Regions from separate parts of the Homo sapiens genome. Here all the other regions are linked to region 1. The links are contacts of gene promoters, found by promoter capture Hi-C in blood cells and fetal thymus (Javierre and others, 2016). All regions are on one chromosome and are shown on one strand. Each heading gives the region's core, a stretch centred on a gene start or on the middle of the fragment in contact. The rest is flanking DNA. Distances are from core to core; before and after follow the strand shown.

Evidence for each region. Contacts are between HindIII fragments. The CHiCAGO score rates a contact against its expected background, and 5 or more counts as called.
Region 2: a contact is called between a fragment that was not itself captured here and the fragment with the promoter of RAD21L1 in region 1, in 1 of 17 cell types (naive CD4 T cells). The highest score is 5.5, in naive CD4 T cells.
Region 3: a contact is called between a fragment that was not itself captured here and the fragment with the promoter of RAD21L1 in region 1, in 1 of 17 cell types (endothelial precursors). The highest score is 7.3, in endothelial precursors.

The regions. Positions count from the first base shown.
Region 1 is chr20:1,224,193-1,228,260 of GRCh38, forward strand. It overlaps RAD21L1 (RAD21 cohesin complex component like 1), which reads left to right and starts at 1,852. Exons shown (of 14, transcript NM_001384355.1): 1 at 1,852-1,948. RefSeq lists a silencer at 2,064-2,113. The HindIII fragment of the contact is 7,037 bases long and covers 1-3,357 here.
Region 2 is chr20:843,417-847,484 of GRCh38, forward strand. FAM110A (family with sequence similarity 110 member A) reads left to right here. Exons shown (of 2, transcript NM_001042353.3): 2 at 1,292-2,861. The coding sequence starts at 1,389. The coding sequence ends at 2,276. Among named protein-coding and RNA genes, the nearest start is that of FAM110A, 12 kb to the left of the region's middle. RefSeq lists enhancers at 881-980, 1,086-1,899, 3,128-3,187. The HindIII fragment of the contact is 8,097 bases long and covers 1-4,068 here.
Region 3 is chr20:1,490,871-1,494,938 of GRCh38, forward strand. It overlaps SIRPB2 (signal regulatory protein beta 2), which reads right to left and starts at 550. Exons shown (of 5, transcript NM_001122962.2): 1 at 405-550. The coding sequence starts at 489. The HindIII fragment of the contact is 773 bases long and covers 1,274-2,046 here.

The DNA.
Region 1 (4,068 bases), core at 602-3,101:
TGGCTTCAGTGTAGAGCAGCAGTCTCCAACCTATTTGGCACCAGGGACCAGTTTTGTGGAAGACAATTATTCCACGAGCCGAGTGGGCGGGGGGTCATGAGATTCTCGTGAGGAGCGGGCAACCTAGATCCCTCGCATGTGCAGTTCCCAATAGGTTTCGCGCTCCTGTGAGAATCTAATGCGCGGCTGATGTGACAGGAGGCGAAGCTCAGGCGGTGAGGCTCCCTCGTCCACTGTTCACCTCCTGCTGTGCGGCCCTGTTCCCACCCGGGGTTGGGAACCCCTGGTGTAGAGAATGGGCTTTAGGGAGGTGAGTGACAGGAAGGAGACCGCTCAGGAGGTTGGAGCTTTTCCAGGAGAGAGGTGGCTTAGACTAGGGTGGAGTCGGTGGAGATCTTGAGAAGGGGTAGATGAAAGTCATATTTGAAGGTGGAGTGATGGGCTTGCTGATGGGCTGGCATTGAAGTAGACATGAGGGTGGCACCAAGGGTGTCTCCCAGACATCCTCTTGAATGGTTGCCGTGACATCATTTCCTGAGGTCGGAAATTGGGAGCTAAACTTCAATTTGAATTCAATTTGAATCCTGTCTCTACAATTCCCAACCACGTGACCCTAGACAGGTTGCTATTTTTTCTCCAGCCCTTTCCTTATTCAAAAGGGGAAAACCAGTAACTACTTTTGTGAGATTGTTTGAAGAGTCAATGAGACAACCCATGAAAATGCCCAGCCAGGAGCCTGAACCTTATCAATAACCTTATATTGGATGCCATTGCCGCTCCAAGATTTATTAGTATTTACTATCAAACTCAAGAGAGGAAACCAGCCTTGCATCCTGATGCTCTTGCAGGATTTTTCTCAGGTTCTAGCACTTGGCCTTGACTACTGAGAACTGTGATATTCCAGGCTGGAAAATATTTGCTGTCCCCAAAGGGCAGGTCAATGTGAATAATCTTTTTAATAATAACAATAATAATAATAGCTAATATTTGTAGAGCACTTATTATTGCTTGGCTCTTTTCATGGTTCATTTTATTTATTTCTTACAATATCCTACGGCGCGAGTACTTTTATTATTTTCACTTTACAGATGAGAAAATCTGAGGTTCAAGGGATTAAAGAATTTCTCCAGTGACCTCCAGCTATAAGTGGAAGAGAAGAGACTGGACTGCATCATAGGGATGTTCAGAGATCAGCCAGAAAGATCACCTTTCACAACAGGACTATGGGGCCCAGGCCCCATCCCTGTCATGCCCCTGCTCAGGTGTCTCAGGTCCGAGCGCCAGGACAAAGCCGGAGACTGCGCACTAGGACCGGTGCGCCTTGCTCACTGTCTGACTCTATCCCTCCTGCCCCGTCCACTGTCCCCACCAACGCCCTGCGCCCTCGTCCCTCTCAGTCCCGGTCCTCTCCACTCTAGCGCACTGCCCTACTCTGTCCGTACCCCCAGCCGCCGCCGCCGCCGCCGCGCCCAGTCCCTCGGTCGCTGGCCCGCCCTTCCCCGCCCCCTGCCCCCGGTCCCTCAGCCACTGCCCCGCCCCGCCCGTCCATACCCCTCCACGCCCCTCCCCATGTCCTGCCCGTCCCTCTCCATCCCCTGCACGCCCCGCCCCTCGCCCACTGCCCCGCCCCATCCCCTGTCAGTCCCGTCCATCGCCCACTGCCCCGCCCCGTCTCCTGCACGCCCCGCCCCGTCCCCTGCACGCCCCGCCCTCGCCCACTGCCCCGCCCCGTCCCCTGCACGCCCCGCCCCTCGCCCACTGCTCCGCCCCGTCCCCTGCACGCCCCGCCCTCGCCCACTGCCCCGCCTTCTCCACGCCCCGCCCCTCCCCGCCCCGCGCCTGCCGCGCATTGCAGACGCCCAGCGGCGCCAAGAACCCGGCCAAGCTGACTTGGCGACTCCTCGCAGCCCCTGCTCTGGCACGCCACACCTCAGACGAGGCTTTGAAAGTAGGGCGCAGCCTGAGAGGCCGGCCGGACCCCGAGTGCTGTAGGCGGGCTGGGAGATGGGGGCCGCCGCCACCCACATTCCCACACGCACCCGGCGCCGGCGCCTCACGCCGTGTTAGCTCGCGGCGCCAAGCCCGGAGGGTCCCGCCTGAGGAAGAAAGGTCGTCGCCCGCAGCCCAGCTGGGGCTGGAGGCGCGACCCGGGGTCTCCTCGCCCGCACGCGGAAGAAAATGGGCGCTGTGGCCTCAGTTTCCCTCTGTGAGCACCCGGCCCGGAACTCTGAGGAGTCGTCTGTGGAGGAGCCTTTGGCGTCCCCCTGCCCCTGAGCGTGGCCGTCAGCTCTTCCCAGCCCCTGCACTTTGCTTTCCCCTCCCTCACGCCCGGAAGGGTCTCGCCCTGCCCGGCTCAGCCCTCTCTCCCCACGCCCCTCTCCCAGGGTCCCCGCCCGGTCCCCTTCCGACCCCTTCCTCCCTCCCTTCGCTCCCTCCCCGCCACCGCCGCCACCCTGCCCTTTGCGGGCCGGTTTCCACGGAGTGGCCCCATCCCGGTGGCTTCACGTTGCACGAAGTCAGTTCAATCTGGAGACTGAAAAAGCCTCCGGGACGTGGGGCGGGAGGGTGCGGGGGGAGTTTGTGTGCGTATTTTGTGGGGAGGGGAAAAAGGTTAGGTAATATGTGCTCGGGAAAATCAATGTCTCAGGAATAGCAAATCTCAGGGTTTGGGTTTTTTCTTTGTTTGTTTTCTCTTTTAAGAAGTCCATCACTTAAAAAGTACATTTGATTTTTTTGAGACGGAGTCGCCCTCTGTCGCCCAGGCTGGAGTGCAGTAGGGCGATCGCGGCTCATTGCAGCCTCCGTCTCCCGGGTTCGAGCGATTCTCCTGCCTCAGCCTCCCAAGTAGCTGGGATTACAGACGCCCGCCACCGTGCCTGGCTACTTTTTGTACTTTTAGTAGAGACGGGGTTTCACCATGTTGGCCAGGCTGGTCTCCAGTTCCTGGCATCAAAGTGATCCGCCCGCCTCAGCCTCCCACAGTGCTGGGATTACAGGCGTGAGCCACTGCGCCAGGCCAAAAAGTACATTTTAAAAGTACCTCACACCACTGGGAGCCATTTAAAAAGATAAATAGGAATTTATTCCGAGAGAGCGAAACACACAGACTAAAAAGGAAAGTAGTGGAACCAGCGCAAGGTACAAGCCATATGCATTAAAATCTCCAGCTGCCCCGTAGGGGAACATGGTTTGGCGGATTGCGTCACCTTTAGTTGGGGCATAATGATTGAATTCTTGCGGTACAAATAGACACTGATGGAAGTTTACCTAAGTTTTTAATTCTTTCGCCGACTTTGTGTTCGTCTTGGCTCAGTTTTCTCTTTTATCAGTATCTTAAGTAGAAAAGAAGCAAAAAGAAGCTTCCATAGTGGCAGTGTAAGATTACTTATATGTAAGCAATAATTTGATTCTTCCCTAGAAGTCAACCAAAGTGCTATAACATCCCTTCTCATCTTTAGCTTAGTGATAGAGCCCTATGGTGTTACCAAGAATAGTACAGTTTGTAAAAATGTGCATTAATTCCTTCTCTTTGTTTTAAGTGAAGGTTTTCTTTTATCGTTCTTATTTCAAAACATTTAAATTTGATTCGTGTTTCTTCCCTTGCCTTCTAATTATTTTCTTATAGTTTCTTGTTTTCTTCATTTTTCCACTTTATGGAATGGAAACTCCACTCCACTCCACTTTTTGGAGTCCCGTGATTTTAACTTCAAAAATTAAAATATTGTTGAATAAACCAGAGTATCTTGAAGAGGGCAATGAAATTCAACACCTGCGTATAAATCAATAATCCAATCCTTCTTAAATTATTAAGTTTTAGAAAAGAGGTGCCCTGTATTAGCTTTTCTTGGTTTTGTCTACCTTTTCCTATTCTTGTTTCTTATTTCCATATCTTATATTTTCAGCCTTCCTCCTTTATTTGACCATGTTAGTAAGAAGAGAACTCAAATCCTTTTTTGGATAAAATAAGTGACATGTATGAAGAAATCATTAATCAGGATGCATTTAAGCCCGGTGTAGAGGTGTAGTTCACAATTTACTAGAGCTTTGTCATTAGGTTATAATTTTATA
Region 2 (4,068 bases), core at 929-3,428, 380 kb before region 1:
GCCACATGTGGCTATTGAGAACTTGAAATGCCACTAGTGTAGCTCAGGAACTGAATTTTATGTTTTTATTTCATTTAAATTTAAAGTTAAGGTTGAATAGCCACATGTGGCTGCTGGCTATTGAGCTGGACAGCACGGGTCTAGATGGCTTGAACTGTAAGCCTTCTTGGGGAACACCCAGATTAAGTACCCGCCCCCTCCATTTTACAGATGAGAATGTTTGGGACTTGGTATGTGGGTTTTCTTCTGTCCCATCTCCAAGGGGCCTTGTGGGGTGACTCTGTGGGCTTGGCCCTTCCTTGGAAACAGGGTCAGGGTTGGCTTGATGTCTGGGGCATCAGGTCCTGACACTTGGGTGACCACGTAGACACTTGTGCATCCAGGTGTATGCCCTCCTCCCAGGTGAGTACCCATTCCATGGCTGCAGGCAGATCGAGGGTCTGCCGGATGCCTCCATGCAGGGCTGTGTGATTTTGGACATTTCCAGCTTCTCTCAGCACAGCATAGCTCAGGGCTGATGTTTCCACGTGACAGGCATTTGTGGATCACCGTGGGCCATCCAGTTCCATGCAGGAAGCTGACGGATGTCTGGACTCCACTGGGGCGCGGGTGGAGATTTTCTTTGCTCCTTCCCTATAAGCTCTGCCCTTTGCCTGGGGCCTGGCATGTCTAGGCGGGTGGATGGCACAGGGCAGCTTCCTGCCTGGATGGGTGAGGGGTAGAGGTGGTACCAGGCTCCCTGTGGGGAGTCCAGGTGGGGTGTGGGGCTGGAGCCCTTTTTCTTGGTCATTTAACCCTACGCCCCGGTGCCAGCACCTTCCTTTTTGGTGGTCAGGGGCAGAGCCACCTACTCGCTGGGTTAACTTAAGCAAGTTGTTTGCCTCTCTGGGCTTCAGTTTCTCCATCCAAAAAACGGGGCTGTTGAGAGGACCTGAGGTTGAGTTGACTGGTGCGTAGCACAGAGCCTGGAGCCTCCCTTGCTCCCTTTAGCGCGTGCCTTGCCCTGTCTTTTCTGCTCAGGTTGCCCAGGTCGCCCAGGTCTTTTTTCTCTAGCACCTTTTTTCCTCTCTTGGTCTCAGCTGGGCCTGGTTCTCCCGGGGCAGGAGGGAGGGGGTGTGGGTGGGGCCTGAGGCCCCGCAGCTGCTGCCTTGTGCCTGCTGATTGGCTCCTTGTGGAGGGGCGTGGTCTCTACCTTATAATAGGGAGGGCGTCTTATCCTCTCAGCCGCGGCTGAGCCTCTTTGTCTGAGCGCGCTCGGCTTTTTTTTTTTTTTCTCTCTCCTTCCCTGCAGCAGTGGCCGGTGTCCAGCTGCCTACTTTCTGCCCGGATCTCTGGCTCCTCATCTCTCCGGTCTCCGCAGACTAAAGCCCTCGGGATATGCAGCAGCCATGCCTGTGCACACGCTGAGCCCCGGAGCCCCGTCCGCCCCCGCCCTACCTTGCCGCCTGCGGACCAGGGTCCCTGGCTACCTGCTACGGGGGCCGGCAGATGGTGGAGCCCGGAAACCGAGCGCTGTGGAGCGCCTGGAGGCCGACAAGGCCAAGTACGTCAAGAGCCTGCACGTGGCCAACACCCGCCAGGAGCCTGTGCAGCCCCTGCTGTCCAAACAGCCGCTCTTTAGCCCTGAGACTCGCCGCACAGTGCTCACGCCCAGCCGCCGAGCCCTGCCTGGCCCCTGCCGACGGCCCCAGCTGGACCTGGACATCCTCAGCAGCCTCATCGACTTGTGTGACAGCCCCGTGTCCCCTGCCGAGGCCAGCCGCACTCCTGGACGGGCCGAGGGAGCCGGCCGTCCTCCCCCAGCCACCCCTCCGCGACCGCCGCCCAGTACCTCTGCGGTCCGCCGGGTGGACGTCCGCCCCCTGCCCGCCTCGCCTGCCCGGCCCTGCCCATCACCCGGCCCTGCCGCCGCCTCCAGCCCAGCCCGGCCGCCGGGTTTGCAACGCTCCAAGTCGGACTTGAGCGAGCGCTTTTCTAGGGCAGCCGCTGATCTCGAGCGCTTTTTTAACTTCTGCGGCCTGGACCCGGAGGAGGCGAGAGGGTTGGGTGTGGCCCACCTGGCACGGGCCAGCTCGGATATCGTGTCCCTGGCAGGGCCCAGTGCTGGGCCGGGCAGCTCTGAAGGGGGCTGCTCCCGCCGCAGCTCGGTGACTGTTGAGGAGCGGGCCCGGGAGCGCGTTCCCTATGGCGTGTCGGTGGTGGAGCGCAATGCCCGCGTGATCAAGTGGTTGTATGGGCTAAGGCAGGCTCGGGAGAGCCCAGCAGCTGAAGGCTAGGCGCCACTGGGCCTGGAATTCGCCACAGGACGGATCTTACAGAGGCAAGTGGTCCCTGGACCTCTCTTGCATCCATTCTCTAGACGGCCGTGTCAGAGGCTCCACCCTGTTGTGAACTTGGTATGGAGGCAAAGGCTTAGAGGCTGGACCAGCATTGTTGGGCAAGGACTGACTCTCCAAGGGTTTTGTTCTTGGCTTTGGACACCTGAGAACCCCCTCCTCCCCTCCCCCAATACAAGGTTTTTGACATGAGTGTACTCCTGCTTAGTTCCTCTTGTGGGGCTGCATTTGCGGTGCTTTGCCCTCCCCACTGTGAGTGAGGGGCCAAGGGATCTCCTCAATCCTGTCTCCCCAGCGGCTCTGTTTCCTCCTTCCTTCCTTGGCCTCTGTCCTTTGCTGACTTCCTCTTCCTTACCCAGCAGAACTCACCCTGGGGTCGGGGCAGTGGGGAGGGGCCTATCCACTGCTCTTCCTAGTCCTTGGCAGCTGGCCTAGGTGGGCAGACTATAGGAGGGACTGGTTAGGAGTCTGCATTGCTTTGACTTCCCTCTCCTTGGTTAATAAACACAAATGCTTGTTTCTCAAGGGCTGGGCCTTCAGACTCTTCTGTGTTCACAAGAGAAAGGGTGAGAGAAGTCTTGGGGTGGGGCCATCAAAACAGTAATTGTTCACCCCGAGGTCTAGTGGTGGGGCATGATGATAGCGGCTGGCCTGGCTGGAGACATGTCCCCGTGGTGGGTTCTCATAACTCTCCTGGAAGGCTAGCAGGCCTGCCTCATCGAGGAGGAAACTGAGATCCAGCCATGAGTGAGCTGGAATAGAGCTGGGAGTAGGAATGGGGTCTTTCCCCTGCACCAGAAAGGGAGCCTGCAGGGGAAAGGCCGATGGGGTGCATAGACTCTCCCCAACCAGGAGTGTTCCATCCAAGCCCTGCCCAGTTCCCAAGGGGGCAGGAAGCTCGGAGAGGGCAAATCCTGAACTTGAGGTCACACAGACCATAGAGTGAGGATGAGAAGTGGGAGTTTTGGAGGAAGAGAGACTTGGGGTGGACGGCACAAAATGAGTGGCCTCCCTGGCGATCTTGGACAAGCCAGTTTCCCTCTGGGCCTCAGTGGGAGAGTTAGGCAGCACAGTCCTCCTTGGGTTGGGGCACTGGTGCATTCTGGGCCCTTCATGCTATATTCCAATACCTGGGGAGAGGGGAAGGAAGGGGCTGGCACTGGGCTTCGAGGCCTCAGCTTCTTCCAGTCTCCCTCCAGGTCAGTTACCTACTAGGACACCCCACCTTGGCTAGTGGAGCAGCTAGGGCTAGAGCTGGGCCTACAAAGGGCGAAAGCGGGGGTGGCCTCTCTGGTGCCCCACGGTGGGCGTGGAGAGGGGGTGGGTGGCGCTTCCTTTCACAGGCTGCCTTGGCTGCAGCACTCAGAAACAGGAAGCTCTAATGGGGGCCCTGGTGACAGGTTTGATGTAGGTTTTATTTTAAGCATAAAGAGGAGATTTCCGTTGGACTGTTGACAAACATCCACATCAGCCCAGCTGTCCATCTCTCTGTCTGTCTGCCTGTCTACAACTAGCCCCCAGGGGCCTGGGATGGGCCTGGGCAGTTTGGGGAAGGAAGGGAAAATTGGGTTCTAGAAGAAGATGGTGTTCCAGCTCATGAGACTGGAGCTCATGATACTGGTGGGGAGACAAGCATGAGGAGGGTGGTGACCTACCCACAACCCCCCATGGTGCCCAGCAGTTTTGACAATGCAGGAGCTGGGCCTCCAGGGTCCCCATGCTGAAGGAGTGA
Region 3 (4,068 bases), core at 410-2,909, 270 kb after region 1:
ATTTTGCAGTGGGTCTCATAAACTATGCAGCCGGCCCAGGGCTGAGCCTCACCACTTTTCTATTTAATACTCACAGTAGCCCTAGAGAAAGGTCCCATGAGCGTCCCTGTTTTGTAGAAGAGGCTCCTGGGGCTAAAAGAGCTGCAGCATCTGACGTGGGCATAGGAGCAATCAAGCTGGAAGCCAGTGGGTGTGAGCGCAGAGCCTGGGAGCTTATCACTTCACTACGCTGCTTCTTGGGACACTGGGGGTGCCCTCTGCCGGAGTCAGGCAAATTTTCAGTGGACCCCTCTTTACTCTATCTTCATGGGGTCAAGCTTCTTCAGGCATGGCAGAGCACTTAGTGCCCCTCTAGGGACTGACCAGCCGGGGGTGGACCCTGTTCTATCCTAGACCCCACTTACCTGAGGGGACAAGGACCAGTGCCAGCAGCAGGAAGCAGGGAGGCAAGTGGGCCAGGCAGGTGGGGGCCGACATCGTGGAGCACATGGCATCTTCTGTGGTCCCCAAGACTTGGGGCTCCTCTGCTCTCTTGTGAGTGTTGGAGTCTGAGGCGGGGCCCGTGGACAAGGCAGTTTCTGCGTCTCTTGGCCACAGCTGCTTGGGGAAGTGTTTTCATTGCAGCAACACAAGGCTGTTGGTGCAATAGGAAGGAGCCCGGTCAAAGGGTTTCCTGCTTTTGTGTCTGGGCTGTGATTCCTGTAGTCACTGTGCTAAAACCTTGCCATAGGCTCCATCCTAGGTGCCCGGGAGGGAGGTGGGCACTGAGGTCATAGGACGCACTCCAGAATCGGGTGGAATTTGGAGCAAACATTGGATCTTCCTCTTCTTGGCTGTGCAAGATTTCAAAGTCACTTCCCATTTCTGAGCCTTTTGTTTCTTCATCTGCAGCGTAGGAACAACGGCAGTTCCCTCCTCAGAACAGTTTTGGTAAGATTATGAGAAATAATGTGAGGGCACAGAACAATGTAAATGCTAAACATATTAACCATTATTATTCATGATGTGCAGAAAGTAGAGGAGGTGACATTGCTTAAGAAGAAGGATTTATTATAAAGCAAGCCCCATGGGGGCCTCCTTTTAGCACTGCAGGGAGGGTACAGGCCTAATTCCTAAAAGTATAATCATGTGTAACTCTCTCAGCCTCTGTTTCCTGGGGTCCAAGTGAAACATACTCAGATTGTGCAAACATTTGCGTTTGTGGCATCTTTGTTTCCTGTAAGTGATCTGAACTTCCTCAGGAGCCTCCTGGTGCTGGCTATCAAGAAGGAAAAGCTTAATCTTGCCAATTCATGCAATCCAGGCAATCTCTTTAGCCACACTGTCTGGGTTCAAATCTTGGCTTTACTCAGTCTGGCTGTGTGACCTTAGGACAATCATTTGACCACTTTATGCCTCGGTTTCCTCATCTGTAAAACAGGAATAAAAATGTGGTAGCATGTGTGGGGTGGAGTAAGCACTCTATAGGCTTTCACCATTGTCTTTTAGGTTAACTCAGTCTTTTAATTAACTCAGGGAAAAGTACAAGAACAACTCAGCCTTTCATTATTTCACTTCCTCCCTCATGCTTCAGAAGGTTCTGGGTGCAGAGGAAGCTGAAGATTCTCCAGCAACAGGGTGGCAGGCCTTGGATCTGAGTATGTCCCCTGGGTCCCAGAGGTCTGGTGTCTACTATGAGGAGGTTAGTCTGGCCTGGTCCCCAAGGACTTTGCACTGGGTCTGTGACTGGTCTTTTCTAGACTTTTGAGGCCTTGCATTGATACCCCTGCTCAATTCCATTACTCCCTCTACTTGTTCTCCTGTCAATGAGATCTATATAGTGAAACTTCTTTGAAAGGGCCACAAGCCTAGATGATTCCACCAGACCCTCAGTACTTTCCATGTCATTCTTACACGGGAATTTCTGAATCACCTGCTCATCTATGCAGATTTCTTTCTCAGCTATTGTTTTTTTCTAAAGTTTTACTTACAAATAATTTTATTTTAATAGGCAAGGCATTGTATTGGTTAGCTATTGCTGCATAACAAAGCACCCCAAAATTTAGAAGCTTAAAAACTAAATGTTCAGTTAATTTACTATTTTGTGGGTTGACAATTCAGTCAGGGCTCCATTTGGTGGTTCGGTCTTCTCATCTCAGCAGATTTTGGCTGGGAATGTTCATGCACTTGAGGTCAGCTGCAGGTTGGCTAGGTGGCTTTGTTACTGCGGTTGACTGATTGTTAACCCAGGTACCTCAGCTGTCCTCTATGTGGTCTCTCATCTTCCAGGACACTAACTTAGTCTTGTTCTCATGAAAGGGGCAGTTTTGAGAGACAGTGCAAGGTACAAGGAAACTTCTGCCATATTCTTTTGGCCACATCAAGTTACAAGACCAGACAAGATTCAAGGAATGGAAAATAGACTTTGCCTCTTGTTAGGGAACTGCAAAGCCTAATTGCAAAAGGTGTGGATACAAAGAGGGGGTATAGAATTGTGGATATTTTTGTGATTTATCTGCCATGGGCATCTACAGGTACAAAATTCAGAGGTCTCAGTGTCTCATTTATAGGGCTCCCAGACATTACTTTCCTTAGGGTTAACCACAGTCACCAGTTTTTGAAGACATTCATTTCCTTTACTGTTTCTGATCTAGTGCTCAGAAGCCAGGTTGAATATGGTTTCTTTGTGATGTCGTGGACTATGAACACCCTGGGAAGACAGGCCATGATCCCTTATGCTGTAGGAATCCCTAAACTCCATTCCCACCCCACCCCAGCATTTGGACCTCAGGACTGTGGGGTTGGCAGGACTCTAGCATCTCAACCCCTGTCTTCTCCCTCTTTTTCTTACTTCCTCACCAAGTCATAAGGGGAGGAGTTCCCCTTCTTTTCCTTCTGGTAGGGACTTTCCTAATCTCAGTCTTCTTCCTAACAGCTGGCCTTCTTTGTTCTAGATGGAATCCCTCCTGCCCCTTCCTCAAGACAGCAAGTCTCACACTCCAGCTTAGAATAGGAAAAAAGCTTCCAGGGAAGGAATTAAACTGCTGGGAGGTGGAGAAATGCAAAAGGAAATAGTTAAAAATGTTATATCTGTCACGTCATCTATAAAACACATGAAATGCGATTGCGCGTGAAGCACTGGCTTGCGATAATTGCTCAGTAACTAGGAACAGTGGCATTCCTCCTGGTCAGTGTGCTTGGGTATCACATGAACTATAGTGTCTATTACTAGCCTGAGTTAAGTTATCCTCAACAAGAGCACCCGAGGTATATATAGAACACAAGTCTACCCATAAAGCTTTTTTTCCTTCCACTACAAAAATGGAACTTTGTTAAAACAACAGCTTTTTGATTGTTTACCATAAAATGGAAAACATACTAAGCAAGCACAGGGAAAGCGTTCAACCTTAGCAGCAATCAAGTAAATACCAGTCTTAAAAAGAGCAACACTGGTGTCTTTGCAATCAGCATCTATCTCCACTTTTTCTATGCTCTCCTCTTTTTTTGGAGGTTCTAAAAGCCTAAGAACTGCATTTTCTGTAACTCTTTACCATCATTATTCTAGGAGAGAATAATGAACCAAGGAGAGGTTCTTGCTTAGATTTGGAAGGTAAAAGGAGAGGCATGCTTGCTTCTCTAGCCATGAAGAGGGGGCAGATACGTGAGAATTGGTGGATTTAATTTATGCAAATGTGAGGTTTTGCAGTGCTGCCTGTCTTCTATAAATCACCTCTAAAGCACAGGCAGCTGGCATCATTAGCAGCAGTTTCTGTGAGTCTCTCAGATTCCTGATTTTCCAAGAGCTACCAGTGAACTTGAGAGATAAAGCAGTGAGGATTTCCGATGGTCTGTAAACACCAAATGCCACAAGTCCCATGAGAACCAAGCATGGCTTTTTATGACCGAACACAAAAGTCATCCAGCCTCATTTCTTCTCTTTTCATTTAGGAGGAAGCATTTAGTGTCTCAATACTAAAGTCTCTAAGGTCCTCGAACTTGATTTTCTGCTATTGGCAATTTGTCCTGCCTTGTGGCTTGGTTTGCCTTTCTTACTCCCTTTTCCTGTTTCATGTCAAATCCCATGGCTTG